5 separate regions of the Homo sapiens genome follow, and all the other regions are linked to region 1. The links are contacts of gene promoters, found by promoter capture Hi-C in blood cells and fetal thymus (Javierre and others, 2016). All regions are on one chromosome and are shown on one strand. The core of a region is centred on a gene start or on the middle of the fragment in contact, and the rest is flanking DNA. Distances in the headings are between cores, read along the strand shown.

What was found. The method cuts DNA at HindIII sites, captures the fragments that hold promoters and counts their contacts. A CHiCAGO score of 5 or more calls a contact.
Region 2: a fragment that was not itself captured here is called in contact with the fragment with the promoter of PHACTR4 in region 1 in 1 of 17 cell types (naive CD8 T cells); the score reaches 6.3 in naive CD8 T cells.
Region 3: a fragment that was not itself captured here is called in contact with the fragment with the promoter of PHACTR4 in region 1 in 4 of 17 cell types (naive CD4 T cells, total B cells, total CD4 T cells and 1 more); the score reaches 6.6 in naive CD4 T cells.
Region 4: a fragment that was not itself captured here is called in contact with the fragment with the promoter of PHACTR4 in region 1 in 5 of 17 cell types (total CD4 T cells, non-activated CD4 T cells, naive B cells and 2 more); the score reaches 7.6 in total CD4 T cells.
Region 5: a fragment that was not itself captured here is called in contact with the fragment with the promoter of PHACTR4 in region 1 in 1 of 17 cell types (total B cells); the score reaches 6.0 in total B cells.

Annotation. Positions count from the first base shown.
Region 1 is chr1:28,366,379-28,372,429 of GRCh38, forward strand. PHACTR4 (phosphatase and actin regulator 4) reads left to right here and starts at 3,362. Exons shown (of 14, transcript NM_001048183.3): 1 at 3,362-3,447. RefSeq lists enhancers at 2,534-3,489, 3,140-3,434 and a silencer at 3,516-3,735. The HindIII fragment of the contact is 7,867 bases long and covers 1-4,778 here.
Region 2 is chr1:29,167,577-29,173,627 of GRCh38, forward strand. All of the region lies in intron 1 of SRSF4 (serine and arginine rich splicing factor 4), which reads right to left. It also overlaps a transcript of MECR not described here. Among named protein-coding and RNA genes, the nearest start is that of SRSF4, 11 kb to the right of the region's middle. The HindIII fragment of the contact is 921 bases long and covers 2,885-3,805 here.
Region 3 is chr1:29,047,252-29,053,302 of GRCh38, forward strand. It overlaps EPB41 (erythrocyte membrane protein band 4.1), which reads left to right. Exons shown (of 21, transcript NM_001376013.1): 12 at 5,853-6,051. Among named protein-coding and RNA genes, the nearest start is that of TMEM200B, 74 kb to the right of the region's middle. The HindIII fragment of the contact is 7,587 bases long and covers 1-6,051 here.
Region 4 is chr1:29,021,063-29,027,113 of GRCh38, forward strand. The region is part of intron 7 of EPB41 (erythrocyte membrane protein band 4.1); the gene reads left to right. Among named protein-coding and RNA genes, the nearest start is that of TMEM200B, 100 kb to the right of the region's middle. The HindIII fragment of the contact is 1,236 bases long and covers 2,852-4,087 here.
Region 5 is chr1:28,929,278-28,935,328 of GRCh38, forward strand. The region is part of intron 1 of EPB41 (erythrocyte membrane protein band 4.1); the gene reads left to right. All of the region lies in intron 1 of LOC124903886 (a long non-coding RNA gene), which reads right to left. Among named protein-coding and RNA genes, the nearest start is that of EPB41, 18 kb to the left of the region's middle. The HindIII fragment of the contact is 968 bases long and covers 2,663-3,630 here.

The sequences.
Region 1 (6,051 bases), core at 2,112-4,611:
TGTTGAGTTGAAATAACTCTGTATATTTCCAGGTAATGGTTACATGTTTTGCGCAATTTTACTCTGATCTGTGGCTTGTCTTCATTTTCTCTCTCTTTCTCTCTTTTCTTTCTTTCTTTCTTTCTTTTTTTTTTTTGACGGAGTTTTGCCCAGGCTGGAGTGCAATGGCGCAATCTCTGCTCACTGCAACCTCAGCCTCCTGGGTTCAAGCAATTCTCCTGCCTCAGCCTCCCAAGAAGCTGGGATTACAGGCATGCACCACCACATCTGGCTAATTTTTTTGTATTTTAATAGAGATGGGGTTTCACCATGTTGGCCAGGCTGGTCCTGAACTCCTGACCTCAGGTGATCCACTCGCTTCAGCCTCTGAAAGTGTGGGGATTACATGGGTGAGTCACTGAGCCTGGCCAGCTTATCTTTCTTTTCTTTTTTTTTTTTTTTTTTTTGAGACGGAGTCTCGCTCTGTCGCCCAGGCTGGAGTGCAGTGGCACAGTCTCCGCTCACTGCAAGCTCTGCCTCCCAGGTTCACACCATCCTCCTGCCTCAGCCTCCCGAGTAGCTGGGACCACAGGCGCCCACCACCACGCCCGGCTAATTTTTTGTATTTTTAGTAGAGACGGGGTTTCACTGTGTTAGCCAGGATGGTCTCGATCTCCTGACTTCGTGATCTGCCCACCTCGGACTCCCAAAGTGCTGGGATTACAGGCGTGAGCCACCGCGCCCGGTTTTATCTTTATTTTCATAACAGTCTTGACTAAAGTTTGAAATTTTGATGATATACAATTTATTCAATTTTTTTCTTTTCTTTTCTTTTCTTTTTTTTTTTTTTGAGACGGAGTCTCGCTCTGTTGCCCAGGCTGGAGTGCAGTGGCAAGATCTCGGCTCACTTGCAAGCTCTGCCTCCCGGGTTCACGCCATTCTCCTGCCTCAGCCTCCCGAGTAGCTGGGACTACAGGAGCCCGCCATCGCGCCCAGCTAATTTTTTGTATTTTTAGTAGAGATGGGGTTTCACCGTGTTAGCCAGGATGGTCTCAATCTCCTGACTTTGTGATCCACCTGCCTCGGCCTCCCAAAGTGCTAGGATTACAGGCGTGAGCCACCACGCCCGGCAATTTTTTTCTTTTTAAAATTTATTTATTTATATTTTAGAGATGGAGTCTCACTGTGTTGCCCAGGCTGGTCTTGAACCCATGGTCTCAACCAGCCCTCCAGCCTTGGCCTTCCAGAGTGCTGGAATTACAGGCATGAGTTATCATGTGTAGCCTATTAATTTAAAAAAATATATTTTTTAATTTTATTTTTGAGACTGAGTTTCCCTCTTGTAACCCAGGCTGGAGTGCAATGGTGCGATCTCGGCTCCCTGAAACCTCCGCCTCCTGGGTTCAAGCGCTTCTCCTGCCTCACCCTCCTGAGTAGCTGGGATTACAGGGGTGGGCCATCACGCCCAATAAATTTTTGTATTTTTTTTTTTTAAGACGGGATCTCGCTCTGTTGCCCAGGCTGGAGTGCAGTGGCGCGATCTCAGATCACTGCAAGCTCTGCCTCCCGGGTTCACGCCATTCTCCTGCCTCAGCCTCCCGAGTTGCTGGGACTACACGCGCCCTCCACCACGCCCGGCTAATTTTTTGTATTTTTAGTAGAGACAGGGTTTCATTGCGTTAGCCAGGATGGTCTCGATATCCTGACCTCGTGACCCGCCCGCCTCAGCCTCCCAAAGTGCTGGGATTACAAGTGTGAGCCACCGTGCCCGGCCAATTTTTGTATTTTTAGTAGAGATGTGGTTTCACCATTTTGGAGAGGCTGGTCTCGAACTCCTGACCTCAGGTGATCTACCAGCCTCAACCTCACAAAGTGCTGGGATTACAGGCGTGAGCCACCGTGCCAGGCCAATAAATATATTTTAAATATTTTTTTGAGACAAGGTCTCCCTCTGTCGTCCAGGCTGGAGTGTAGCGACACCATCACAGCTCATTGCAGCCTGGACCTCCCCAGCTCAAATAATCCTCCTATTTCAGCCTCCTGAGTACCTGGGACTACAGGCACGTTCCATCATGCCCAGCTAATTTTTAAAATTGTTTTTGTAGAGATGGGGCCTCACTCTGTTGCCCAGGCTGGCAGGCTGGTCTCAAACTCCAGGGCTCAAGGGATCCTCCCGCCTTAGCCTCCCAAAGTGCTGGGATGAGAGGTGTGAGCCACTGCACCCGGCCAATTTTTTTTTCTTCTTTTTTCTTTTTCTATTGAGACAGGGTCTTGCTCTGCTGCCCAGGCTGGAGTGCACTGGTGCGATCTCGACCCCCCAGGCTCAAGTGATCATCTCACCTCAGCCTCCCACGTAGCTGGGACTACAGGAGCTTGGCACTAGGCCCCGGATAATTTGTTTGTTTGTTTGTTTGTTTGTTTTGCGACGGAGTCTTGCTCTGTCGCCCAGGCTGGACTGCAATGGCAAGATCTCGGCTCACTGCAACCTCCGCCTCCTGGGTTCAAGCGATTCTCCTGCCTCAGCCTCCTGAGTAGCTGGGATTACAGGCATGCGCCACCGCGCCTGGCCAATTTTTTTAATTTTATGGATAGTGTATTTGAAAAGTCACATCGATTTTTCTCCTGGAATGTCCTCTAGATGTGCCGTAGCTTCAAGTTTTACATGTAGGTCTAATTTAGGTTGTGTGATACAATGGGTTTGCATTTAGAAGGGTCCTCTGGCAGCAGCAAGGAAGGTTTTCGGAGGGTGATAGCCTAGGGCCTGAAACTACTGAGACTTGGAGAGAAGTGATGGTGGCTTTCACTAGGTGATAGTAGTGAAGGATATCGAAATGAATTAAAATACTGGGGATGTAGAATGACTGGACTTAATGGCTTGAGGGAAGTGTCCAGAATGATTCCTGGGTTTCTTACGCACAACACTGAGGGTAGATAACTTGCTTGTACGTTTTTTGCACTTCAAATTGGTCCTCAATAAATAGTTTTTCCTTTGGGGAGGTTATGATTGAAATTTGGCCAGTCAGGGATACAGTTTTCTCAAACAACACTCTTGTATCAGTTCCCTTTTTGGGTACTGCCTGGAGCCCAGTATTGAACCCTGTCCTCCCAAGCCCAAAGACCTTTGCCTCCCATAGTACCAGGAAAGGTGCCCAAGTTCTTTTACACACAAGGTGCGCAGAGCGGCCAGCGCATGCCCAGAGAGGTCGTAAGGAGGACGACCGCCCGGAGAGAAAGGACGCACGCTTCCCGCCATTTTGTTCAGCTTGCCGGGCAACCGGCCCCTGCTGGGGACTACAAGTCCCGTAAGCCTCCGCGGCGGCACGTCCTACCCTACACTGTCCAGCCGGCTCCCTTTTTCCCCCTCCCCGGGGGCCAAGGGCTCCGGCTGCTGCCTGGCGGCCAACGGGCCAGGTAGGATTTCCGGGAGAGGCTGCTGTGGAGGCTGAGGAGGCGGCGGCGGAGATCTGGGTAAGTTCAGCGAGCAAGGGAAAGTGAGCAGGACGCGCTCAGTATCAGGCTGCGGCCTCCTCTCAGGCTGCGGCCCCTTTCTTGGCTCTGCGAGAGGGTCCCGGTCCGGGCAGAAGGTAACGGCCCGGGTCGCCGTCGCTTCGGGCCAGGGCGGGGCGGGGCCGCCGCCTCCCTCCTCGGCCCTCCCACAACGGTCCAACCCGGGCTTCTCCGCCTGAGGCAGGGCCCGCGCAGGCTCGCCCTCTCCGCCCCCCGAGACTTGGCTGGGCCCTTTTGTCTGGGCTGCGTTGCTCCCCCTTTGTGTCCGTGCATGGAGTCTCCGCCACGGGGGAGCCTGTTCCCCCGGTCCCCAACAGGGACTGCTCCCTGGGGATCCGGTTACAGTAACCGGATCGGGTCAAAGTACATTTTTCAAAACCGTCCTGCCTCAGACCTCTGCACCCCTGCTGGGCAGAACGGGGGCTTCGGAGCCAGGCGGAGTTTCTGTAAAAACCTGGAGGTTATTATTTAACTTTCAAACATCAGCCTGGGCGGCTTCAGGGCACGAAACTCCCGACGTTTTTCTTGGTGGAGAGATGAGATTAAGGAAAAGAAGCGACCCCTCTCTCCCACCCTCTACACCCCGGCTCCGGGAAACCGGGAAGGCATCGAATTTGCTGCGATGTCTGTGCAGCTCACATCTGTGATCGGTGGACCAAAGAACCAGTGGTGAATGGTAGAATGGCAGTTCACGCACCTCCCAAATCTCGGAGGAGAGTGACTTACAGGGCATCACTGATTGCTTGCAAAAAAAAAAAACCCTCCAGTGCTTCATTCGGACACTCAGCTCCTCGCTCCTTCCAACCTCTTCCTTTTCTTGTTCTTTTTAAAACAAACAGTGGAAGGAAAAAGTCCTTCAGTGGAAGAATTTGCTTTATAGAGGAACCAGAAACCCAGTGGCTTCTAGAAGTCACTTACTTTTTCGCCAAATTAAAGAAATGAATTTCGGGCGTGGTGGCGCGCGCCTGTAATGCCAACTATTCTGGAGGCTGAGGCAGGAGAATCGCTTGAGGCCAGAAGTTCGCGACCAGCCTGGGCAACACAGCAAGACCCCATCTTAAAAAAAAAAGGAATGAAGCCCGTTTAGAAATGAAGCCAGTTTAGGGGATGAGGTGTGGTAGATTCTTACCGGAAACCGCGGAACTGCGTGGATTGTGGATTCGATCAAATTTGGCTAGATAATGGTAACTGTGTATGTCCTCCTGTTGGAAGACTGCATTGCTAGAATCAGCTTAAGGTAAAATTTGTTTGTTTGTTTCATTTAAGAGACAAGAGTCTAGCTTGGTTGCTGAAGCTTGAGTACAGTGGAGAGCTCCTAGTTCACTGTAGCCTCGAACTTCTTGGCTTAAGCCATCCTTCCACCAGAGGCTCCCAGATGCCTGGGACTAGAGGCATGAGCCACTGTGCCCGACTATTTAATTTAATTTATTTATATTTATTTATTTATTTTGAGACAATCTCACTTTGTTACCCAGGCTGGAATGCAATGGCACGATCTTGGCTCACTGCAACCTCCACTTCCCAGGTTGAAGCGATTCTCCTGCCTCAGCCTCCTGAGTAGCTGGGATTACAGGTGTGTGCCACCATGCCCAGCTAGTTTTTGTATTTTTGGTAGAAACAAGGTTTCACCATGTTAGCCAGGCTGGCCTTGAACTCCTAACCTCAGGTGATCCACCCGCCTCGGTCTCCCAAAGTGCTGGGATTACAAGCGTGAGCCACCGTGCCTGGCCAATTTTTATGTATTTATTTTTTGAAATAGGGTCTCGCTGGGTTTCCCAGGCTGGAGTGCAGTGAGTTGAGCACTGCTCACTGCAGCCTGGACCTCCTCCTGGGCTCAAGCCTCTGCCTCCAGAGTAGCTGGGACAACAGACACAGGCCACCAGCGCAGCTAATTAAAAAAATTTTTAAAAAAATTTTTGTATTGATTGGGGTCCCACTCTGTTGCCCAGGCTGGTCTTGGACTCCTGGGCTCAAGTGATCCTCCCTCCCAAAGTGCTGGTATTAAACCTTAAGATAAAGAATACTGTATTTGTTTTTTGAGATAGAGTCTTGCTCTGTTGCTCAGGCTGTGCAGTGGCGTGATCTTGGCTCACTGCAACCTCTTCCTCCTGGTTTCAAGCGATTCTCCTGCCTCAGCCTCCCGAGTAGCTGGAATTACAGGCATGTGCCACCACTCCCGGCTAATTTTTTTTTTTTTTTTAGTAGAGATGGTGTTTCACCGTGTTGGCCAGGCTGGTCTGGAACTCCTGACCTAAAGTAATTTACCTGCCTCCGCCTCCCAAAGTGCTGGGATTACAGGTGTGAGCCACCGTGCCTGGCCAATAAAAAATTCTAAAGAAGGTCATTGCAAATAACCCTTTTGAAAAATAGGTTAATTCGTGTTTCAAGTCTCTGGGATGAGGACAGCCAGGAGGACCCCTTTACATGAATCAGGGAAGGTTACTGAAGTTAGATAGGTTAATTCCTGCCCTAGCCGAGTAGGCAAAATAAAGCCCTTCACCCTGTATTACTTTGTTTGATATCTCATAATGGAAGTGACTTACTCTTGAGAATCCTAGATTGTAT
Region 2 (6,051 bases), core at 2,095-4,594, 800 kb after region 1:
GTTTCACCATGTTGGTCAGGCTTGTCTCAAACTCCTGACCTTGTGATATGGCCGCCTCAGCCTCCCAAAGTGCTGGGATTACAGGCGTGAGCCACTGTGCCCAGTCATGTTTCTGTAGCTTTTTAAGTCTTGTTTTTGTCTTTGTGCTTACCTTCTCTTTTGATTATGAGCTCTTCACTAAGAAAAACGAAGGCTAATATCTGTTGGCTATTTAGCACAGTGCCTGGCACAGTAAATAATTTATCCATAATATTTCATCCATTTGTATATCAAATGTGAAGAATGTATTATTATTCTTCTCATTTTACAATGAGAAACTGAGGCTTGGAGTAAGCAACTTGCTCATTTTCAAGGAGCTCATGAGTGAAGGAGCTAGATTTGAACCCAGACCCATGACTCTAAAAATCCCAGCTCTAAACCACAAGGTTCTAATTCCTTTTTTTTTTTTTTTTTAAAAAAAACATAGTCTCGCTCTGTCGCGCAGGCTGCAGCGCAGCGGCGCGATCTCCACTCACTGCAACCTCTGACCCTGGGCTCAAGCAATTCTTGTACCTCAGCCTTTAGAGTGGCTGGGACTACAGGTGTGCACCACCATGCCCGGCAAATTTTTTGTAATTTTTTTTTTTTTTTTTTTAGGAGAGACAGGGTTTCACCATGTTGCCCAGGGTGGTCTCGAACTCCTGAGCTCAGGCAATCCACCTGCCTTGGCCTCCCAAAGTGCTAGAATTACAGGCATGAGCCACCATGCCCGGCCTTCTACTGTATTTTAAAGGCAGATGCTTCTCTTCCAGTCCTGTGTACAATCTTTTTTCACTCAATAAATGCTGCTGCTTGACTTAATGATACTCTAACATCAGATAAAGTCAGGCTGTAGTAAAGGTTTTTGATATAATGGGGTAAAGTCTCTAGAGAAAAAAGAAATTGACCTTGGGGCAGGGTGAAGCACCTCTAAGCTGGGGGTATGTGACAACCAGGTTACTTTCACTCGTCTTTTGGTTCCCATTAGCCAGTGTCAGCCATCTGGTCCTTCCGAAAACATGTGTGGGTTCAGAACATAACAGACTAGAAGAATAGAGGAAAAATAAGATTATTCTGTGCAATCCCCATTCTGGAGGTCCCATATCAACCCCCGGAGTCTGTCTTTGCTTCTAAGGCTCAGCAAAAATTAGACCAGCATAAAGAAGATGAAGACTTGGATCTAGACGTGGTGGATGTGAATGAATATTGGCAATATTATGTATTTAGGAATGTATTTAATTAGTTTTGCAAGGAATGGTGACTTGAACCAAAAAATATAAGCGTGAATGGTAGGAGGGAAATGGGCCAGAAATCAAAGAATACTAGAAAGTTTACAGACTTTCAACTATACAAAGGTTAAAGCAGCAACCAGAAAAGTACCATGCAGATGATAAACATCTAAGATGTGATTTAATTTTCATTAACTAAAAACTATTTTTAACATGCAGCCCACTAGGACTCTTCTTCACATTTCTTTGTAATAATTACTACTCCTATTTTTGAAAGTTTTACGATGTATAAAGCATTATGCTAAGTGCTTTACACACATTATATCCATTTAATTTTCACAACTCTGAGGTTTACTGTCATCTGACAGATCAAGAAACTAACTTAGAGGAGTTGAGTAACTTGCCAAGACTATCCCAAAGACCTGGGATTCTTCACACCCAGCTAACCTAAAACCTGCATTCTACCACCACGTTTTAACCGCCTCCTATATACCAATGAAAAGTGGTCCATAAAACCAGAGTTGGAGAAACACAAGCTCTTGCACAGAAAATCAGTTTCATCAAATTATGTGCTGTAGTGTGGAAGACAAATGCCCACAGGAATATAAGCATCTTATGAGAAAGAGTAAGTGGCAAGAAAACACCATTTCTGCATGTGATGTGTGTGTGCTAATACCAGTAAGTTGTGAACATTTATTCTCTACAAGTGGAACCAAACCCATATGCCATCAAAATTTTAATACTAGTCTAGGAAAATAGAAAAAGGTAACAAATCATTAAGAAACTTATATCTCAGCAATGAGAACACAAATATATCAGTGGGAAAATTAAACTCATGATCCTTTCTCATAAAGTAAACCAACTGCTGAAAAAAAATCTCTAATGATGAACTAACCAAACTCAAGCCCATGGTATTGAGTCCACATTGCAGATAACAGCCCATCTCTAACAGAATATATATTCACATAGTAGGGTGAGAAAAACAGAACAATCATTATCCTAAACACCAAACAGTAAAACTAAATCCTCCCAGAATGGGAGGTAGAGAGGAATCTGCATCAAATATGAATTTAGTCTTACTCTGTAACTACTCTATGAGCCTATTTGCCAACTTTGTTTTAGCTATTCAAAACTTTCAAAAATGAACTAAGTCAGCTAAGGTATTTCACTTTTACACTGCAAATAGTTTGTGGATCAAACTATCATTACCCCCTGCAATCATAACTGAACTTTCTTTTTTGATATTTTAAAGTCAACATGGCTTTCCTGAAAGGGAGGGCAGATACAATCATCTGTGTCCATTTCAATTTTCTGACACTTTTCAACACTAAGGATAAATGAAATTGAAAGCTTTCAAAAAAGGGGAATCAACTATTGCCTGATGACAAGAAGTTCGTGAAGACTCAACCACAAATTAAAAACGATTTGAAAAAACTCGAGAGATGAAAGTCACATTACCAATTTAGAATAAAACTCTTGGGATTTAATATAGAATTACTTTATCTGTTATTCCTACTTAAAGAAATAAAGGTTTACACTCTGCAGACAGCACTACCTGATTCCACACAAAAGCTACAAACAAAACCAGTTCATACTTACCTCTTAAACAACACAATGAGCAGGCTGCCAGGTGTTAAAGCTTCATTAAAGATGATGCCTCTTGGATCATCTTGGCTGTATGAGGCACCATGTCCCTCATAATCGCCCCTGGTCCCTGGGCTGGAGTCTGTTTCTTCATTTTCATTTTTGGTTAAAGATGCCACTCCCTATGCTTTTATTAATTAGTGGATGCCACTAATTAAGTATTTTAATGAATTTTTCAAATTCTTTTAAAATGGATGGATCAATAGCTTCATTTCAATTACATGAAAACCTTTCCAAGTCCATGTTTCTGGTCTGTGGTTCCTGACTCCCTTGCCTGAGCCTCCTGCTCTGTCTGCCCTCTTCATTCCTGAAGGCTGAATTCAAACCTCCCTCTTTCAGACTTCCTCTTCTCTCTAGGTCTTGGGGGTCTTTGTTCATGAAGGTCCCCTTTCTGGCATAAAAACCTAAACCCATGGTTGGGGACCTGGGAGAAATAAAGTGCCTTTCAAGCGCTTCTTCAGACATTGCGTGCAGTTCAGAAATCTTTAGCCTGGGAGACTTTCATCTCAACACACAGAAAACTCAAGTAAAACATTTCCTCAAACTATGGGCATACAAATTCAGAGCATAATCTAATCCCTCACCTTCAGGGTACTATAAGACCAGACGGCCCTAGGAATGACAATAAGGCAGAGAACATTTACTTGTACAAATCCTTCCTCAGCCAACCACGATAAAGCTGATACCACCTTACAGCTTTTCAAAGAGTAGCCTGAGGAGGAGAATCACTAGCAGTCTCCAACTAAGGACAACATCATAAAAAATACCATCTGTCTCACTTTTGGCAGTAACTTGTCAGCTTGCTGGAAGCCTCTACAGAGACTAAAGGCTGAACAAGCCCGGAAACCTGAACTACCCTCTCACCCTCAGAGGCAATCCCCAAAGGACAGGACTAAAGGAAATAGCATGAGGGAAGCTTTGAATGTCAATGCCCACATGTATCTAGTATGGGAATTTAAAAAATCTTCTATTTCCGGAGTTGTCAATAACTCATTTTGTAACCTTGGGCCAGTCACCTTATCACCCCATGCCTCAGTTTCCCCATCAGTACAAACTAGGGACAACACTTGTTCATAAAGTACTTTGACATACTCAGTTGAAAAATAAGTCATACAAATGCATTAATATTTTCGGAAGTTTTAAGATTTCAGTGTTAGCTTACAAATTTGTAAGTATCACCCCAACGGTATTCTCTCAGATGCCTGGAGCACCTTTCTTCTGAGGAGCTCAAAGTAAAATTTGCGGTTCTGGGTACCTGGAAGCATAAAAAAATACTAGAAACCCAAACCACATTTTATTACCGAGTCTATATCCTGTGCCTATCTTTTAAGAAGGGACAAATACTTCGTATGGCCCTTAAATTCATACAGTACCTCAATGAGAAAGGAGGAGCAAAACAGTATATTAAACTGAAGAACAGGGATTTTAAATGACTTAGTCAAATAATTACAAATGATGTTTATTCATACCACAAACTGAAGGGACCAAGAACCAAGGAGTGGAGGTCTTGAACCAGGGCAATTTACGCTGTTAACATTTGGTCAAAAATCTCAATATGGTATTATCTCTTGGCATTGATTTTTCAAAATGACAGAAAAAAATTAAATTCCCCATATATTGGGGGAAAAAAATAATACACTTTTTTGGGGGGTAAGTTGACTTTAAAAAGTGACTTTTAATAAAAAAAAATTTGATCACATTTGTAATAGTTATATTACTAATAAAACAATGACAGAATGCTACTTAATTCATAGTCCTATCTCTATTTATTATTCATTCAAGAAAAACTTCCTGATTATTTTTCACTTGGTAAATTAGCATCTTTTATTTTTATTTTTTATTTTTGAGACAGAGTCTCACTCTGTCACCCAAGCTGGAGTGGAATGGTGTGATCTCACACTGCAACTTCCGCCTCCCGGGTTCAAGCGGTTCTCCTGCCTCAGCCTCCCGAGTAGCTAGGATTGCAGGAGCCTACCACCATGCCCAGCTAATTTTTGTAATTTCAGTAGAGACAGGGTCTCATCATGTTGGTCAGGCTGGTCTCGAACTTCTGACCTCAGGTGATCCGCCCGCCTTGGCCTCCTAAAGTGCTGGAATTACAGACGTGAGCCACCACGCCTGGCCAGCAAACACAACAGGGGTACTCCATGCTGTTGAAGTGCCCATCACACGGGCATGCTCATACACTGCGGGTGTTAAGTGTAACTGGTGTAGCTTTTCTGGAAAGTTATTTGGTTATATGCACTGAGATACTTGAATATGTTCACTCCTGCTGTGACACATGAATTTTATTTCATGGAATCCATATGTACTCAGGGATAATAAAAATGCAAACAAAGTTTTATGCACATAATACCCATCACAGGGTTACTTATAACAGCAAGAATTAGGAGACCAAAAAAAAGGTAGACAATATAAGAGGAATGGTTGGGTAAGTCATAATATTGCCATACAATGGATTTTATGAAGCCATTAATAAGGAAGATTTTAATGTAATAGAAAATACATGAGATAAATTAAGTAAAAAAAGCGTGACACAAAATTGCACGTAAAACCTCACCCATCTTAAAAGGATGCTTAATGATACTTTTCACTTTATGCTTTCATAATATCTAAATGATCTACAATTAACCTACATTTATTCTCTAATGAGTCAAAAAGGCTTTTTTTTTTTTTTTTTTTTTTTTTGAGACAGAGTCTTGCTCTGTCATCCAGGCTGGAGTGCAGTGGTGCGATCTCGGCTCACTGCAAGCTCAGCCTCCCGGGTTCACGCCATTCTCCTACTTCAACCTCCCAAGTAGCTGGGACTACAGGCGCAGGCCAACAGGCCCGGCTAATTTTTTTTGTATTTTTTTTTTAGTAGAGATAGGGTTTCACCATGTTAGCCAGGATGGTCTCGATCTCCTGACCTCGTGATCCGCCCGCCTCGGCCTCCCAAAGTGCTGGGATTACAGGTGTGAGCCACCACGCCTGGCCTAAAAAGTTGTTTTTTTTTTTTCTTTTTTTTTTTTTTTTTTGAGATGGAGTCTCACTCTGTTGCCCAGGCTGGAGTGCAATGGTGCAATCTCGGCTCCCGGGTTCTAGCGATTCTCCTGCCTCAGCCTCCTAAGTAGCTGGGATTACAGCAAGTGCCACCATACCCAGCTAATTTTTGTCTTTT
Region 3 (6,051 bases), core at 1,955-4,454, 680 kb after region 1:
CCTTTTTTTTTTTTTTTTGGAGAGAGAGTCTTAGCTCTCTCAGGCTGGAGTGCAGTAGTGCCGTCATAGCTTGCTGTAGCCTTGACCTCCCAGGCCCAAATGATCCTCCCACCTCAGCGTCCTGAGTAGCTGGTACCACAAGTTCACGCTACCGCGCCTGGCTAATTTTTTTTTTTTTTTTTTGTAGAGACAAGGTCTTACTGTGTTGCCCAGGCTGATCTTGAACACCTGGGCTCAAGCAGTCCTCCCACCTTGGCTTCTCAAAGTGCTGGGATTATAGGTGTGAGTCATCGCACCTGGCCTAGTTGTGTTTTTCTAGGAAATGTGCATTTTATCTAAATTTCCAAATATATTTACATAAAGCTGGGTATCTTTTCAATATCTGTAAGAACTATAGCAGGGTCCACTTTTGCATTCCTGATATTGGTAAGTTGTACCTTTTTGTTTCGAATAGCCTTGGTAGAGGTATATTGATTTTATTAATCTTTTCTTTTTTATATTGTAAATTGACAATTTATGTATGTATGTATGTATGTATGTATGTATTTATTTTTGAGGTGGAGTTTCACTCTTGCTGCCCAGGCTGGAATGGCGTGATCTCGGCTCACTGCAACTTCTGCCTCCCAAGTTCAAGCGATTCTCCCGCCTCAGCCTCCCAAGTAGCTGGGATTACAGGCATGCGCCACCATGCCCGGCTAATTTTTGTATTTTTAGTAGAGACGAGGTTTCACCATGTTGGTCAGGCTGGTCTCTACCTCCTGACCTCAAGTAATCTACCTGCTTCGGCCTCCCAAAGTTCTGGGATTACGGGCGTGAGTGAGCCACCGAGCCTGGCTGACAATTTATAATTGTATATATTTATGGGGTACAAAGTAATTGTCTTAAGTTTTTCAAAGAACCAACTTTTGGTTTTGTTGTTTTTTTCCTATTATATATAGTTTAACTCATGCCAGCTGATATCTTTATTATTTTCTTTTTTTGAGACGGAGTTTTGCTCTCGTTGCCTAGGCTGGAGTGCAATGGCGTGATCTCGGCTCACCGCAACCTCTGCCTCCCAGGTTCAAACAATTCTCCTGCCTCAGCCTCCCGAGTAGCTGGGATTACAGGCATGCACCACCACGCCCGGCTAATTTTGTATTTTTAGTAGAGACGGGGTTTCTCCATGTTGAGGCTGGTCTCGAACTCCTGACCTCAGGTGATCCACCCACCTCAGCCTCCCAAAGTGCTGGGATTACAGGCGTGAGCCACCGCGCCCGGCCTATTATTTTCTTTACGCTTTTATTGAGCTTTTTTAAAAAAAATTCTTGAACTAGATACTCATTAATGTTCATTATTTCTTACAACTTAACCTTAGAATGTAAGTGACTTGCCTAAGGTTACATAGCTAGTTGGAAAGAATTAGAAGGGAATCCGGGACAATTCTCCTAGGCCCATGCTTTTTACTCTTCACCATGATGACTTCTTTTTTTTAGAAAGAGTAGAATAAAAGTTAATAGTCAATATTCCTTGAGCACTTAGTATGTTCCAGGCACTGTTCTATCTTTTAAGTATCTGAAGTGCATATAAACTGAATAGGACAATTTTTTTTTGTAGTTCTGTTTTTAAATGTCTTATTTTTCTCTTTGTACTATAGTATAAAAAGTGGAAATATGTCTGTGTAACTATTTTTCCCTCCTTTCCTTAGATACTTCTCTGTGCTCCTTAAAAGATACTTTTTCCCGTTGAGTCACCCCTCCCTTTTCAAAAGATTAATATAACTCTGTAAGCTAGAGATGGTGTATCAGGGAAACTTTTACAAGAATTGCTTTATAAGGGGTCTTATTTTAATGATAAAAATGAGCATTCCCTTCCTCTTCTGTTATGTGTGGTGCTTAGAGCATCTGCTTCACCAGCTGGAGTACCAAAACTGGTTCAGATCCCAGTTTTATGATAGAGTAGTAAGTTGCAAGCGTAGCTAATAATGATGACAAAGATTATATTTTTCTTGCACTTTTTGCTTTTCAAACCATTTCCATGTATTCCTATTTAATACTAGCAACTTAGTCAATAAGAGAAAACATTTAGGAATTACAGTTTTACTCATGAGGAAACTGGAGCACAAAAGAAAGGGCCACACAACCAGGTAGTTCATCCATTCAGTGAGCAGTGGTTACAGTGATTCTTGCCAGGGGTGTACATCCTTATCACCTTTGGAGCTTTAAAACAAAACACATGCCCAAGCCTCACTCTTGGATAGCTCATCTCACTAGAGTGGGCCTGAGCATCATCTGATTTTTTTGTTTTTTGTCTTGAAAAACAAACATTGTATCAGAGGACACAAATGATTTATGTGGTCCTCTGATAAAAGAACCACCCTACCGCATACTAGCAGAAATTGTGCTAGTAAATAACAGCTAGAAGTAGAAGTTGTTTGCCTTTACTCAGTCTGATGGTTTGAATTTTATTCTTTACTGCTGTAGTATATAACTATCTAAGTTTCTGTTGTCAGCCAAGAGCAATATAGTATTGAAGTTAGTGGGTCACCATCAGCATTTTTCTTTATGTAGACCCTCAGATATGGGAGATACTGGATTTTTAAAGTTATGTATTGTCTATATATGCACCAAAATCTTGTAAATATTAACAGCTGAATTAATAAAACTGAAGACCCACACATCTTAAAAAGCAATCCTTACCCCCAACACTGTGAATATACTAAAAAGCATTGAATTATATATTTTAAATGAGTGAACTGTGTGGTATGTGAATTGTATCTCAAAAAAAGCTGTTAAAAAAAGCCATGATCACTACCATGATATTATAGAGTTAATATCTTCCATATTTTACAGATGATTAAACTAAAGTTTGTAAGATTAAGCTCCACGCCTTAGGCACACTACTATATGTGACTGAGTGTGGGCCTAAGACTCGTGATTTGGCTTTTGCCTCTGTTCCACGCAGCCTTTCACAGCCAGAGCTTTTTATTGTAATGTTATTATTTTTCCAATCTGTGAACTCTGTTTCTGTCAGTTTCCACACTAATACCTTCTTTTCCACATACAGTACAGATTGCCAAGGCTAGGAATGCTGAAGACATAAATCATTTGGCTCTGCAGTATTAGTACTGGATTGAAACCAAAGACAAGTGGCAAAATAACACATGGTGAAAGCATGGGCTAAGTTTCTATGATGCCAGGCATAGTTGAATTAATTCTTTGAGAGGAGGTGTGAATACACATGTATAATGATACTTAAACACAACTGTGAGCAAAATATTTTGTCACATTCCCCTGTGTTGTCAGGTTTGGTCTGCCATCTGCCACTCTTGCAGTGACTGCTTAAAGCACCCATTAGTAGTAGCTCTGTGCTAATCCAGAGTTATTACTACTAACCCAGTAGTAGCAATCTGTGCAAGAGGCCGCAGATTTTTCATGGAAAGATAAAGGAGATCCTTTTTTTTTTTGAGACAGAGTCTTGCTCTGTTGCCCAGGCTAGAGTGCAGTGGTACGATCTCGGCTCACTGCAAGCTCCACCTCCTGGGTTCAGGCCATTCACCTGCCTCAGCCTCCCAAGTAACTGGGACTACAGACGCCCGCCACCACGCCCAGCTAATTTTTTGTATTTTTTAGTAGAGATGGGTTTCACTGTGTTAGCCAGGATGGCCTCAATCTCCTGACCTCGTGATCCACCCACCTTGGCCTCCCAAAGTGCTGGGATTATAGGCGTGAGCCACCACGCCTGGCTGATAAAGGGGATTCTTGAATTTCTGCTGTTTTTCCTATATATCCGCTAAGGAATTAGTTCTTTCATTGGAAATTATGACAGAGTAATGAGCATTTCTTTCTTTTTCTTTTTCTGTTTTTTTTTTTTTTTTTTTTTTTTTTTTTGGAGACAGTCTGGCTCTGTTGCCCAGGCTGGAGTGCAGTGGCACGATCTCAGCTCACTGCAACCTCTGCCTCTCGGGTTCAAGTGATTCTCCTGCCTCAGCCTCCCGAGTAGCTATGACTACAGGCGCCCACCACCACACTTGGCTAATTTTTGTATTTTTAGTAGAGACGACGTTTCACCTTGTTGACCAGGCTGGTCTCGAACTCCCGACCTCAGGTGATCTGCCCACCTCGGCCTCCCAAAGTGCTGGGATTACAGGTGTGAGCCACCGTGCCTGGCCAAGCATTTCTTTCTTAATATTGTTGTATGAAGTAGTTGGGAATTTAAAGTTTTTATCTGTTCAGATTCATGGAATTCCTTTATCTGATCCTTACAGTTTACAAATCTAAAAATTTCAGGATGAATCATGTTCAGTTATAGTCAGTTTAAGAATGCAGGAAAGTCTATAATAAAAATTATTGATTTCCATGCAAATTGATTAAAATATAAGAGTCTTGGCTGGGAGCGGTGGCTCACGCCTGTAATCCCAGGACTTTGGGAGGCCAAGGCAGGCAGATCACTTGAGGTCAGGAGTTCAAGACCAGCCTGGCCAACATGGTGAAACCCCATCTCTACTAAAGATACAAAAAATTAGCCAGGCATGGTGGCATGTGCCTGTAGTCCCAGCTACTGGGGAGGCTGAGGCAGGAGAATCACTTGAACCTGAGAGGCGGAGATTCTAGTGAGCCGAGATCATGCCATTGCACTCTAGCCTAGGCGACAGGGCAAGACTCCATCTTAAAAAAAAAAAAAAAGTCTCAGTACAAAAGAGGATAACAATATGTTATCAGAAATACTAAATCATGCACAAAAACACTTTCATTCCTAGATACTGTCAGATAAGTGAAGTTTTATTACAAAGTGTAAATGTTTTATATCCCTGAAAGAATGAACATAAAAACCATAAAAAGAGTATGAGTGATTGTTTTGAAGTAAGCTGTCTAAAACTTAGATACCAAATATTCCAAAACAACAATTGGCTCTTTGAAAAGATCAAGATTTTATCATAAGTCTGTATAGTTTATTCTCTCTAAAACAGTCTATACAACTTTTCCCCTAAATTAAGGTTTCTCAACCTCAGTAACTTCAGCCTCTATGCACTGGATGCCAGTACCTCCCGTCTCTCCCCTCCTCTGTTACAACAACCAAAAATGTCTCCGGACATTGCCAGATATTCTCTGGGGACAATTTACTCCAGTTGAGAACCACTGCCCTAAACATATTAGAGAATAAGAGCTGTAATACAAATTGGTAAGGCTGAGAGATAGTAGGACAGAACTCAAAAGATATTTTTGTTTAGGTTTGAGGACTGACAGTCAAAGATTTTGAATTTGTGTTATTTTAATCAAATGATTTATTATTAAAAGGGAGAGCATCTGGTTCAAATATTTGTCCTTACAAGCATCAGAAAGTAGTTCATGTCTTACCAGAAGAGCCATTTATCAAGTTATTTTGTAATCATTCCAAGGAGGCTTACAGAAGAAATCAGACTTAATTCTTTTTTCTTACAATATATTTTTAGGTTCCTGAAATAACCTAAAAATGAACACATCTTTATTTTTAAAATGCCTCATGGAAGAAATCACATTTAGTTAACCCTTTTTTTCCTGCCATAGACAACATTGCAGGTTTTTGAAACTAAAATTACGAGATAAATGGATTTTCTATTTCTTTTCTTTGATCTTGTCTCCCCTGAATTCAGCATTCATGGAACATGATCATTAACACATTTTAGCCTTTCTACTGAGGGTACATTTAACTTCCTTGTTGCTATCAGTTCCCTGGCAGAGCACTAATGATTTATTTTTTACCCTCTGTGTGATAGCCCACTACACACTCTAACATTCGTGTGTATCCTGGATTCACAATTATTTTGCCTGGTGACTTTGAAATAATACAGTAGCTCTGGCCTTTACTTATGCTTCCCTTTTCCCTTTCTCACATAGCAGCAGCTGTCGATTCGGCAGACCGAAGTCCTCGGCCCACTTCTGCACCTGCCATTACTCAGGGTCAGGTTGCAGAAGGTGGCGTCCTAGATGCCTCTGCTAAAAAAACAGTGGTCCCTAAAGCACAGAAGGAAACAGTGAAGGCTGAAGTGAAAAAGGAAGACGAGCCACCTGAGCAAGCTGAGCCAGAGCCCACAGA
Region 4 (6,051 bases), core at 2,220-4,719, 650 kb after region 1:
AGCCAGTTATTGTGCATCTATTATTATGTGCAAGATACTATGATAAGCACTTTATGTAAAACATCACGTTTAATCTTTATAACCACCCTTTGAGTTAGGACAACGGTTCTCAAAGGTGGTCTACAGACCCTGGAGATCTTCAAGATTCTTTCAAGGGGTCCATGAAGTCAAAATTATTTTTGTAATAATGCTAAGATGTTATTTGCTTTTTTCACTCTGTTGAAATGGGTGGGGCACAAATCAAGGCAGTTGGAGCAAACTGTACTAAGAGTCACTATATTGTTCTCCAGCATGCACTTGCAGCTGGAAGTGCAAGAAAGCCAGCTTACCTTAGAATTTTCCTAACGAAGCAGCAAAAAGTATTAATTTTATTAAGTCTTGAATACATTTCTATTTAATATTCTGTGTGATTAGATGGGAAGTACACACAAAGCATTTTTGCTGCATACTGAAGCACAACAGTTGTCTCAAGGAAAAGCACTTGTGCAATTGAGTTGTGAGCTGAATTGGCCATCTTTTTTTTTCTTTTTTTTTTTTTGAGACGGAGGCTTGTTCTGTCGCCCAGGCTGGAGTGCAGTGGGGTGATCTCCGCTCACTGCAAGCTCCGTCTCCCGGGTTCACATCATTCTCCTGCCTCGGCCTCCTGAGTATCTGGGACTACAAGCGCCAGCCACCACGCCTAGCTAATTTTTTGTATATTTAGTAGAGACAAGGTTTCACCGTGTTAGCCAGGATGGTCTCAATCTCCTGACCTCGTGATCCGCCCGCCTGGGCCTCCCAAAGTGCTGGGATTACAGGCATGAGCCATCGCGCCCGGTGGCCATCTTTTCTATAAAACACCATGTTTTCTTGAAAAAATGACAAACTATGATTATTCGGACTCGGTTATTTGACACACATTTTCTCAAAAATGAAATGAGCTAGTACTTTTAGGAAAGCAACTGACAGTATTTGTTGCTAATGACAAAATTCAAGCTTTCTGGTAAAAATTGGAATTTTGGAAAACTTTTATATATCCCCATGATCTTGACAGCTTTTAAAGACTTTTCTGCTAAGGTCAGTGGTTATTTTAATGAATGTGTTTTTTTATACACATATTATATCAAGGTTTGGAAGATTTTCATAACTTGGTGAACAAGTATTTTTCAGATTAGAAATGCACAATGTTAAAAAAATCATGCACAGGTAAAAGATCCATTCAAAATGCAAGATAGACCAATGGATTTTAATGTAACAGTACAAAAAGTTCATTGATAAGTTTCTACATTTCACATTGAAAATTATCTTTAAGAAACTGCCATTGATATAATAAAAAAAAAAAAAAAAAAAGAAACTGCCATTGATAAGTTTTAGTGTAATACCAGAAAAGAATATTTTAGGCCAGGCGCAGTGGCTCATGCCTGTAATCCCAGCACTTTGGGAGGCCGAGGCAGGCGGATCACAAGGTCAGGAGTTTGAGACCAGCCTGGCCAATATGGTGAAACCCTGTCTCTACTAAAAATACAAAAATTAGCCAGGCATGGTGGTGGGCACCTGTAATCCCAGCTACTTGGGAGGCTGAGGCAGGAGAATCACTTTAACCTGGGAGGCGGTGGTTGCAGTGAGCCAAGATCGTGCCATTGCACTACAGCCTGGGCGACAAGAGCAAGACTCCATCTCAAAAAAAAAGAAAAAAGAGTGTTTTAAATTCATAGTCACCCCTTTTCAAACTACATGTCTGTGTGAGATCAGATTTCTTCACATACTGCCAAATCAATATATTGCAACAGATTGAATGCAGAAGCAGTTGGGAGAATTCAGCTGTCTTCTATGCCAGACATTGAAGAGATTTGTAAATATGTAAAGCAAAGTTACCTTTTCATCACTGTTTCAGAAAATATTGGTATTTTTCAGAAATTATGTTATTTATGTTAAAAAGTAATGGGATTACCATTATTTTATTTTATTTTGAAATGGAGTTTCACTCTTGTCGCCCAGGCTGGAGTGCAATAGTGTGATCTCGGCTCACTGCAATCTCCGCCTGCTTGGTTCAAGTGATTCTCGTGCCTCAGCCTCCCGAGTAGCTAGGATTACAAGTGCCTGCCACCACACTTGGCTAACTTTTGTATTTTTAGCAGAGACAGGGTTTCACCATGTTGGCCAGGCTGGTCCTGAACTCCTGACCTCAGGTGATCTGCCTGCCTTGGCCTGCTAAGGTGCTGGGATTACAGACGTAAGCCACCGTGCTTGGCTGGATTACTGTTACTTTTTAGAAATTTAATAAACATTTTAAATTTTCCTTAGTTAAAACAATTTTAATATAGTGAATACAAATAGCTATAAGCCACATAAAGAAAAGCTCTTGACCGGGCACAGTGGCTCATGCCTGTAATCCCAGCACTTTGGGGGGCCAAGGCAGCCAGATCACCTGAGGTCGGGAGTTCAAGACCAGCCTGACCAACATGGAGAAACCCCATCTCTACTAAAAATACAAAATCAGCCGGGCATGGTAGCACATGCCTGTAATCCCAGCTCCTCAGGAGGCTGAGGCAGGAGAATCGCTTGAACTCGGGAGGCAGAGGTTGCAGTGAACCGAGATCATGCCATTGTACTCCAGCCTGGGCAACAAAAGCAAAACTCCGTCTCAAAAAAAAGAAAAAAGAAAGAAAAGCTCTTTAGGGTCCTCAATAATTTTTACAATAATTGTTAAGAGAATAAAGAGGTCCTGAGATCAAAAAAGTTTGAGAACCACTGAGTTGGGGCAATAGGGCACCATAGTTAAAATCTTGGGCTCTGGAGTTAGCCTTTCTTTAAATTCAGACTCCATTCCTTGTTAACTGTGTGCCTCTTGGTAAGTTACTTAAGCTCTCTAAGCTTCAGTTTTTTCATCTGAAAAATAAGGGCAATAATGTGAATTTTCTAATTGTTAAATCAGAAAATTTATATAAAGTGATTAGTACAATGACAGTATATAGTGAGAGTTCAAATATCTGCTATGATAATAATAATTCTTGGCTGGGCACGGTGGCTCACACCTGTAATCCCAGCATTTTGGGAGGCCAAGGCAGGTGGATCACGAGGTCAAGAGATTGAGACCATCCTAGCCAACATGGTGAAACCCCATCTCTACTGAAAATACAAAAATTAGCTGGGCATGGTGGCGCGCACCTGTAGTCCCAACTACTCTGGAGGCTGAGGCAGGAGAATTGCTTGAACCCAGGAGGCGGAGGTTGCAGTGAGCCGAGATCATGCCACTGCACTCTAGCCTGGGTGACAAAGTAAGACTTCATCTAAAAATAAATAAATTAAAGGCCGAGCGTGGTGGCTCACACCTGTAATCCCAGCACTTTGGGAGGCTGAGGCAGGTGGATCACGAGGTCAGGAGTTCAAGACCAGCCTGGTCAAGATGGTGAAACCCTGTCTCTACTAAAAATACAAAAAATTAGCCGGGCTTGGTGGCACGCGCCTGTAATCCCAGCTACTCCGGAGGCTGAGGCAGAGAATTGCTTAAACCTGGAGGGGCGGAGGTTGCAGTGAGCCGAGATCGCACCACTGCACCCCAGCTGGGCGACAGAGCGAGACTCCGTCTCAAAAAATAAATAAATAAAAAATATAAATAAATATAAATAAAAAAAAATTCTTATCCTCACTTCACAAGTGATGAATGTATGTGTCTTGGTTTGGAGAACTAGTTTTAACCTTTATCAGAATGTAAACCCAATTAGGTGAAACAATCTCAAGGGACAAATGGATATAGTTCAGCTGATATTCTGTTAGAGATGTGGTAGAAATTGAGCAATAATGGATCGCCGTGACCAGAACATTTAGGAGTCTGTCATCTTGGAATTTACTTGCTCCTTTTTGGAAAGATTTGCAACCCTCACAAACCCAAAGGAACAATTTAATTATGTCCAACAACATGGCATTTTAACTAATCCAAAGAAACTTCCACTGAGGCATATGCATTTTACTATGCATTGGAAAGTGCAGTACAAGCACTTCTCAGATAGAAGACAGCCTGCATAAATGGAATCCTTAGTAGTGGCCCTTTGCCCAGACTGGGATTTTAAAGCTATAATTAACACTTTAAATTTACACTAGCAAATCAAGCTTTAAAATTAATTGCCCTCCATTTATTGGTATTAGGAAGGTATGTAAACTTGTCTATTGTCCCCCACTTAATTCTTTGAAATCACAATCCTTAATTAGGAGATATAACAAACATTATTAAAAGGGAGTCACATAACACTGGAACACACCGAATAGCTCTATCCTGATTGCACTTGCTTGAAATAAATGCAGGGAAACTTTATTGTAACTTCTCTTTTTAATGAGCTTTAACCAGTGCCGGAGCTTCCTGGTCAGGTACTTTTGTAAGCTGCAGTACTTACAAGTAGTAAATTATTAGGTGGTACTGAAAAAATTCAAGACAGTACTTTTAATGGTTTAGAGGTATCTAATCTCTTCCCAGCTGGTTTGTTATGACGCTCAAAGGTCTTGGAAATTTTAGGGAAAACCTTGATCATTAAAATTTAAGGCAAAAAATAATTTATTTTGTGATATTAATCTTTCAAATATATGTGTTGTGTTAACATGCACAGATGTCTGTGGGTGGTGAGATTATATATTTTCTATGCTTTTAATGATATTTTCCAAATTTTATACAGTGAATGTGTATGATTTTTATAATCAGATAAAGCTTTCTGGCAACATTAGGTGGGGCAGAGCAAGGTAGTCATCCATGCAGAGGGGCAGTCTGGCTTGGGATATTGAGGCCTAAGCAGAGTGAGGAGTGGGTCCGTGGGTTGGAGGGCAGCCTGGCATGAAGAGTCAGAGCTCAAGTGGATGAGGATGGTAGTCATGTGTGGGCACCTGGTGGTGGGTTTCAGAAGCCAAGCAGAGCAAGAAGGGCATCCATGTGGGGGAAAAGCCTACACAGGATGTGGAGGGCATCCATACAGGGTGGTGCTTGATGCACAGTGTCAAAGCCTAAGCAGGGTGAAGAGATGGTCCCACACCAGCAGTCAGAACCCTGGTGAGGTAAGGAGGACATCCACGTGTGCTGAGTAGCCCAGAATGGGGAATTCAGGGTTCAAGTAGAGTGAGGAGGACATCCACATACAGTAGGGGTTTGTGGCTGCAATGAGAGATTATATGATTATACAGAGGGATTGATCAAATTAGTCAATGTATTCAGGGTAATGGGAGCCAGGTTTCTCACTGTCAGTAAAGTGAGACACAAATTATGGAAAGGGAGAAACTAAAATGAACCCTGTTAGGATATTGCGTTAAAACTGGAGGCTTCAATGTGAACTTGTGGTTTCCAATATATAGATAGGTAGATATAGAAATATAGATGTAAAAAGGTAGATACATACACAGATACATACTCTAACTCTACATTGTGTCAGAAGGAAGTACTGGAAGAATGATGGGAAATGGTCAGAAGGACACAGAATCCAGCTTGGAGAGGTTCCCACTACCAAATCTGGGGCAATTTAAGCATCAAAATAGATAAGGAAAATAATTGATATACTGCATTGAATAAAATGAAAATTCGTGAGTCCATACTGACATAAATAAATAAATTGAAATTTTAAGGCTGGGCATGGTGGCTCATGCCTGTAATTCCAGCACTTTCAGAGGCTGAGGTGGGCTGACTGCTTGAGCCCAAGAGTTCACTTGAACCTGGGAGGTCAAGGCTGCAGTGAACCATGATGGTGCCACTGCACTCCAGTCTGGGTGACAGAGCAAGACCTTGTCTCTTAAAAAAAATTTTTTTTGGCTCACACCTTTAATCCCAGCACTTTGGGAGGCTGAGTTGGGCAGATCACGAGGTGAGGAGTTTGAGATCAGCCTGGCCAATATGGTGAAACCCCATCTCTACTAAAAATACAAAAATTAGCCAGGCATGGTGGCGGGTGCCTGTAGTTCCAGCTACTTGGGAGGCTGAGGCAGAAAAATCACTTGAACCCAGGAGGCAGAGGTTGCAGTTAGCCGAGATCATACCACTGCACTCCAGCCTGGGCAACGGAGTGGGACTCCATCTCAAAAAAAAAAAAAAAATTCTTA
Region 5 (6,051 bases), core at 1,897-4,396, 560 kb after region 1:
TGCAGTGGCGCTGTCTCAGCTCACTGCAAGCTCTGCCTCCCGGGTTCACGCCATTCTCCTGCCTCAGCCTCCCAAGTAGCTGGAACTACGGGTGCCTGCCACCGTGCCCGGCTAATTTTTTGTATTTTTTTTTTAGTAGAGACGGGGTTTCACCGTGTTAGCCAGGATGGTCTCGATCTCCTGACCTTGTGATCCGCCCGCCTCGGCCTCCCAAAGTGCTGGGATTACAGGCGTGAGCCACTGCGCCCGGCCAATTTTTACTATTTTTTTTGAGACGGAGTTTCACTCTTGTTGCCGGGGCTGGAGTGCAATGGCGCGATCTTGGCTCACCGCAATCTCTGCCTCCCGGGTTCAAGCGATTCTCCTGCCTCAGCCCGCCGAGTAGCTGGGATTAGAGGCATGCGCCACCACGCCTGGCTAATTTTGTATTTTTAGTAGAGACGGGGTTTATCCATGTTGGTCAGGCGGCTAGTCTCGAACTCCTGACCTCAGATGATCTGCCCGCCTTGGCCTCCCAAAGTGCTGGGATTACAGGCGTGAGCCACCGCGCCTGGCACTGGGCCTTCTTTTTTTTTTTTTTTTTTTTTTTTAAAGACTTTATTGAGATATAATTAACATATCATATGATTTAACCATTTAAAGTATACGATTTAATGTTTTTTAGTGTGTTTATGGGGTTGTGCAGCCATCATCTCAATCTAATTTTTGAACATTTTCATCCCCCTGAAAAGAAACTTCATATTCATTAGCAGTCATTCCCCATTCCCCACCCTGCAACCCCAGTCCTAGGTAAGCACTAACTACTTTATGTCTCTCTAGATTTACCTATTCTAGACATTTCATATAAATAGAATTATACAATATGTTGCTTCCTTTTTTTTTTTTTTTTTTTTTAAAGAAACAGAGTCTTACTCTGTTGCCCAGGCTGGAGTGCAGTGGCACCAACATAACTCACTGCAGCCTTGAACTCCTGGGCTCAAGTGATCCTACCGCCGCAGCCTTCTGAGTAGTTGGAATTACAGACACACACCACCACACCAGCTAATTAAAAAAAAAAAAATTTTTTTTTTTATAGAAACGGGGTCTTGTCATATTGCCCAGGCTGGTCTTGAACTCTTGGGCTCTAGACATTGTCCTTCCTCAGCCTCCCAAAGTGCTGGGATTACAGGCATGAACCACTACATCTGGCCCTGAACTGTGTGTGTGTGTGTTTTTTTTTTAATTTGAGACTGAGTCTCTCTCTGTTGCCTGGGCTGGAGTGCAGTGGCACGATCTTGACTCACTGCAACCTCCGCCTCCCAGGTTTAAGTGATCCTTCAGCCTCAGACCCCCTAGTAGCTGGGATTATAGGCACACACCACCATGCCTGGCTAATTTTTGTATTTTTAGTAGAGACGGGGTTTCACCTTGTTGGCCAGGCTGGTCTCGAACTCCTGACCTCAGGTGATCCGCCCGCCTCAGCCTCCCAAAGTGCTGAGATTACAGGCGTGAGCCACCGCACCTGGCCCATTTCATCACCTTTTTTACCTGTAATTTTTCTCTGGCTGAATATGCTTTTAAGAAATAAAAGTTCTCAATAAAAATCCTGTGGTATATTGTACCTTGTGATAAATAATACCCAAGATCCATGATGGGAAGGGAGATTTTTAAACATATCTTAAATACATGATACTGAAAGTATGAGGCAGACTAAATTATTCCATCAGTATTCAGAATACTTATCAACAGAGACTTTTTAGGAAAAAATACAAAATTATGAATACAAAACTAGGGATGAAAACAAATACCTATCTAGAATGAGAAAACCACAAGTTACATATTTTAAAAAGCTGAAAAATAGGCTGAGCATGGTGGCTCATGCTTGTAATCCCAGCACTTTGGGAGGCTGACGTAGGAGGATAGCTTGAGCCCAGGAGTTTCATACTAGCCAGGGCAACATATGATACCACACCTCTACAAAAAATTTAAAAATTAATGGGACGTGGTGGCATGTACCTGTGGTCCCAGCTACTCGGGAGGCTGAGGTGGGAGGGTCACTTGAGCTTGGGAAGCTAAGGTGGTTCTAGCCTTGGCAACAGAGTAAGACTCTGTCATTAAAAAAAAAAAAAAAAAAGGCTGAAAAATAGCACAAATATCACAAAATTTAGAAAAATAGCTTAACATTTTAATTAACTGATATGGTGTCATAGTTCATTTTTTTCTGTATTTTTGGCTTCATACTCCTCTAAAGAGTTTTATATTATGACTTTGTAATTTTTTTTTTTTTTTTGAGACAAAGTCTCGCTCTGTTGCCCAGGCTGGAGTGCAGTGGTGCGATCTCGGCTTACTGCAACCTCCGCCTCCCGGGTTCAAGCAGTTCTCCTGCCTCAGCCTCCCGAGTAGCTGGGATTACAGGCGCCCGCCACCACGTCTGGCTGATTTTTTTTTTTTGTATTGTTGGTAGAGACAGGGTTTCACTGTGTTAGCCAGGATGGTCTCGATCTCCTGACCTCATGATCCACTCGCCTCGGCCTCCCAAAGTGCTAGGATTACAGGCGTGAGCCACCGCGCCCGACCAATGACTTTGTAATATTTTCAATAGAGACAGCACAAAGATAATTCAGTCTTCCTTTTAGCTTGGTGGCCTTGGCAGGGGCCAGTACAAATGAGGGCCCTGAGCTTAAGCTTATTTTAACAGTAAATCTACTTCTGCATAGTAAGTAATCTTAAGAGATGAACCAAGAGGTTGTAATATGCCTAGTCTATATTTTAAGCATTTATTGCAATTGTTTGGTTATTATAAGTTGCTTCATGTGAATCATTTTCTTGGATTTAATGTTCAACTAGAAACTTGTAGTGTTTTGTTTTGTTTTTTGTTTTTTTTGAAATGGAGTCTTGCTCTGTTGCCCAGGCTGGAGTGCAGTGGCACTATCTCAGCTCACTGCAGCCTCCGCCTCCCGAATTCAAGTGATTCTTCTGCCTCAGCCTCCTGAGTAGCAGGGATTACAAGTGGGTGCCACCACACCTGGCTAATTTTTGTATTTTTAGTAGAGATGGAGTTTCGCCATGTTGGCCAGGCTGATCTCGAACTCTTGACCTCAGGTGATCCACTCTCCTTGGCCTCCCAAAGTGCTGGGATTACAGGCATGAGCATCATGCCTGGCCTCTATATTTTTATCTTTTCTTCCAGGAGCCAAAGCTGCTGCTTTTTCTCCTTTTTTTTTTTTATGCTTCTCTCCTACCTCCTTTAAAAAAAAAAAGCAGATATCTTTTTTTTCCCAAATAATTCATGTTATTGTTAATGTGGAGATGAAAAACAGGCCAAACTAGTTATATATTTTCAGTCTAAGATCTTTCTCCTCTGTTAAGTTTTAGACTAGATATTCTTGTTTTGTCAGGCTCTCAGTACATTTTCTCTTCCATGTCAACTCTAATTCTCTTCATCTCTTCTTTTGGTAGTGAAAATCAAGTAGAATATTAAAAGACCATATGCTCTGCAAATCACTTAGAAGCAAACTTGCTCTGTGATAGTATGGCCTTGATATTTGTCATTAATATTATTCGTTGTTTTATTTTTGGGGTAGCTTTCTGGAGGTCAAGGGTTTACAAGTAGAACAAAGAAATATGAGTAGTTAGTGACCGAAGAACTAAAGCTTTTTTCCAGGATTTTCTTGTTTTACAAAGACACGTATAGACATTTTGTTAGATTTTTAAATACCTCAGTTGACAATTTAAATGTTGAGAGCCCAATACTGTTAGTATTGTGAATATATTTGAGTTGAATATATTTGGTATATTTAGTTTGTATATTTAATTTTTTGAAAAAGTTTTGTCTTTATGTATTTTTTTCTTTAACATTTGAGCTTGAATCAATAAAGGGCAGCAACAGAAAAGCATTTTGGATCAAACATATTTGCCGTGTTCACTATATTTTGATGATAAATAGATGGCAACATTTGTCTTTGAGTCTGTCTTGTTCTGCTCAAAAAGCAGAAAAGATAGGAAGAGAGAAATAAGTAAGATTTACTGCACTTTGCTTAATATTCTTACAGCAATAACACACCTTAGCTGGTGGTATTTTCCTTTTATGAATCATAAAGTCAGACTGGGAGAGGTAACTTATCTAAGGTCATGAAGCTAGTAACTGAGGGTGCTAAGACTCAATGTTTAGCTGACTTCAAAACTGATGTGCAGCACTGTGATTGGATTTGGAACTCTCTTCTATTGTGGTTAGGGTAGTGGTAAACTTTCATCCTATTCAGATTTTCACAAGTCATAATTTATTGTCACCTAGGATGACCAGGATTCAATCTAGGCTATCACATTGCATTTAGTGGTTATGTCTTCCTTAGTCTCCTCCAATCTGTGATAGTATCTCCTTGCATTTCATAGCATTGATGCGTTCATAGAGTATCGGCCAGGTGTTTTACAAAATGCCAGTCGGGGTTTGTCTGATTTTTTTCCACGATTAGATAGTAGATTTTTGGGAAGAATACAGAGGTGATGTGTCCTCAGTATGTCATGTTGGGCAAAGCAAGACCTAGTCTAAAAAAACCACACACACGGTTTTAGATTTACAGATTTATTGTGAAGATAGTACAGAGTCCCTATATACCCCACACTGCAGTTTCCTCTATTATTAATATATTAGTATAGTATATTTTTAACATTAGTAAACTGATATTGATACATTATTGTTAACTAAAGTTCATATTTTATTCAGATTTCCTCAGGTTTTTTTCCTAATGTCTTTTTCCTGTTCCTGAATACCATCCAGGATACCACATTATGTCTAGTACTCATTTCTCCTTACAGTTTTCTTGGTTGTGATTGTTTCTCAGACTTGCTTTGTTTTTGATGATCTTGACAGTTTTGAGGGTTGTTGGTCAGATATTTGTAAGATTGCCTCAGTTGGGATTTGTGTGATGTTTTTGTCATTATTAGACTTGATAATGTGTTTTTGGGAGGAAGACCCAGAGAGGTAAAGTATCATTCTCATTACTTCCTATCAAGGGTACATCCTATCAATATGACTTATCACTACTGATGTTGACCTTGGTCTTAAGGTAGTTTATCAGGTTTCTCTGCTGTAAAGATACTTTCCCCCCTTTTCCATACTGTACTCTTTAGATGAAAGTCACTATGCATAGCCCACACCTAAGGAGTGGAGAGTTGTACTCTACCTCCTTGAGGGCAAAATATCTACACAAATTATTTGTAATTCTGCATCAGAGACTTTATTTTTCCTCATCTGTTCAATCATTTATATCAGTGTGGAGTCATACTGATATGGATATTTATTTTACACTTTGGGTTTTAATCCAGTATTACTTCATTTATTTTGTTGCTCAAATTGTTCCAGCTTTGGCCATCAGGTGCTCTTTTGGTTGGCCTCTGGTTCTTTTGACATTGTGTGTGTGTGTGTGTGTGTGTGTGTGTGTGTGTGTGTATTTTAATACTTTCCTACTTTGTGGTACTACAAAATGCTCCAGGCTCATCTTGCATATTTCCTGCCCGGCTCCTAGAATCAGTCATTTCTCCAAGGAGTCCCCATTCCTTTTATTGGATAATGGCATTAGAAACCAAGATCTGGCCAGGCACGGTGACTCAAACGCCTGTACTCCCAGCACTTTGGAAGGCTGAGGCAGAAGGATTGCTTGAGTCATGGACAACATAGTGAGGCCTTGTCCCTACAAAAAATGAACAGAACTAGCCAGGGGTGGTGGCGCATCCTTGTGGTCCCAGCTACTCAGGAGGCTGAGGGAGGATCGCTGGAGCTTGAGAGGTTGAGGCAGCTGTGAGCCATGTTCATGCCACTGTACTCTATCCTGGTTGACAAAGTGAGACCCTGTATCAAAAAAAGAAAAAGCATAAATAAATAAATCAAGATCTGGCCAGGTGAAGTGGCTTGCACCTGTAATCCAAGCACTTTGGGAGGATGAGGCAGGCTGATCACCTGAGCTCAGGAATTCGAGACCAGCATGACCAACATGGCGAAACGCTGTTTCTACACAAAAATACAAAAAAAGTTAGCCCGGTGCTGTGGTGCGCATGCCTGTAGCCAGCTACTCG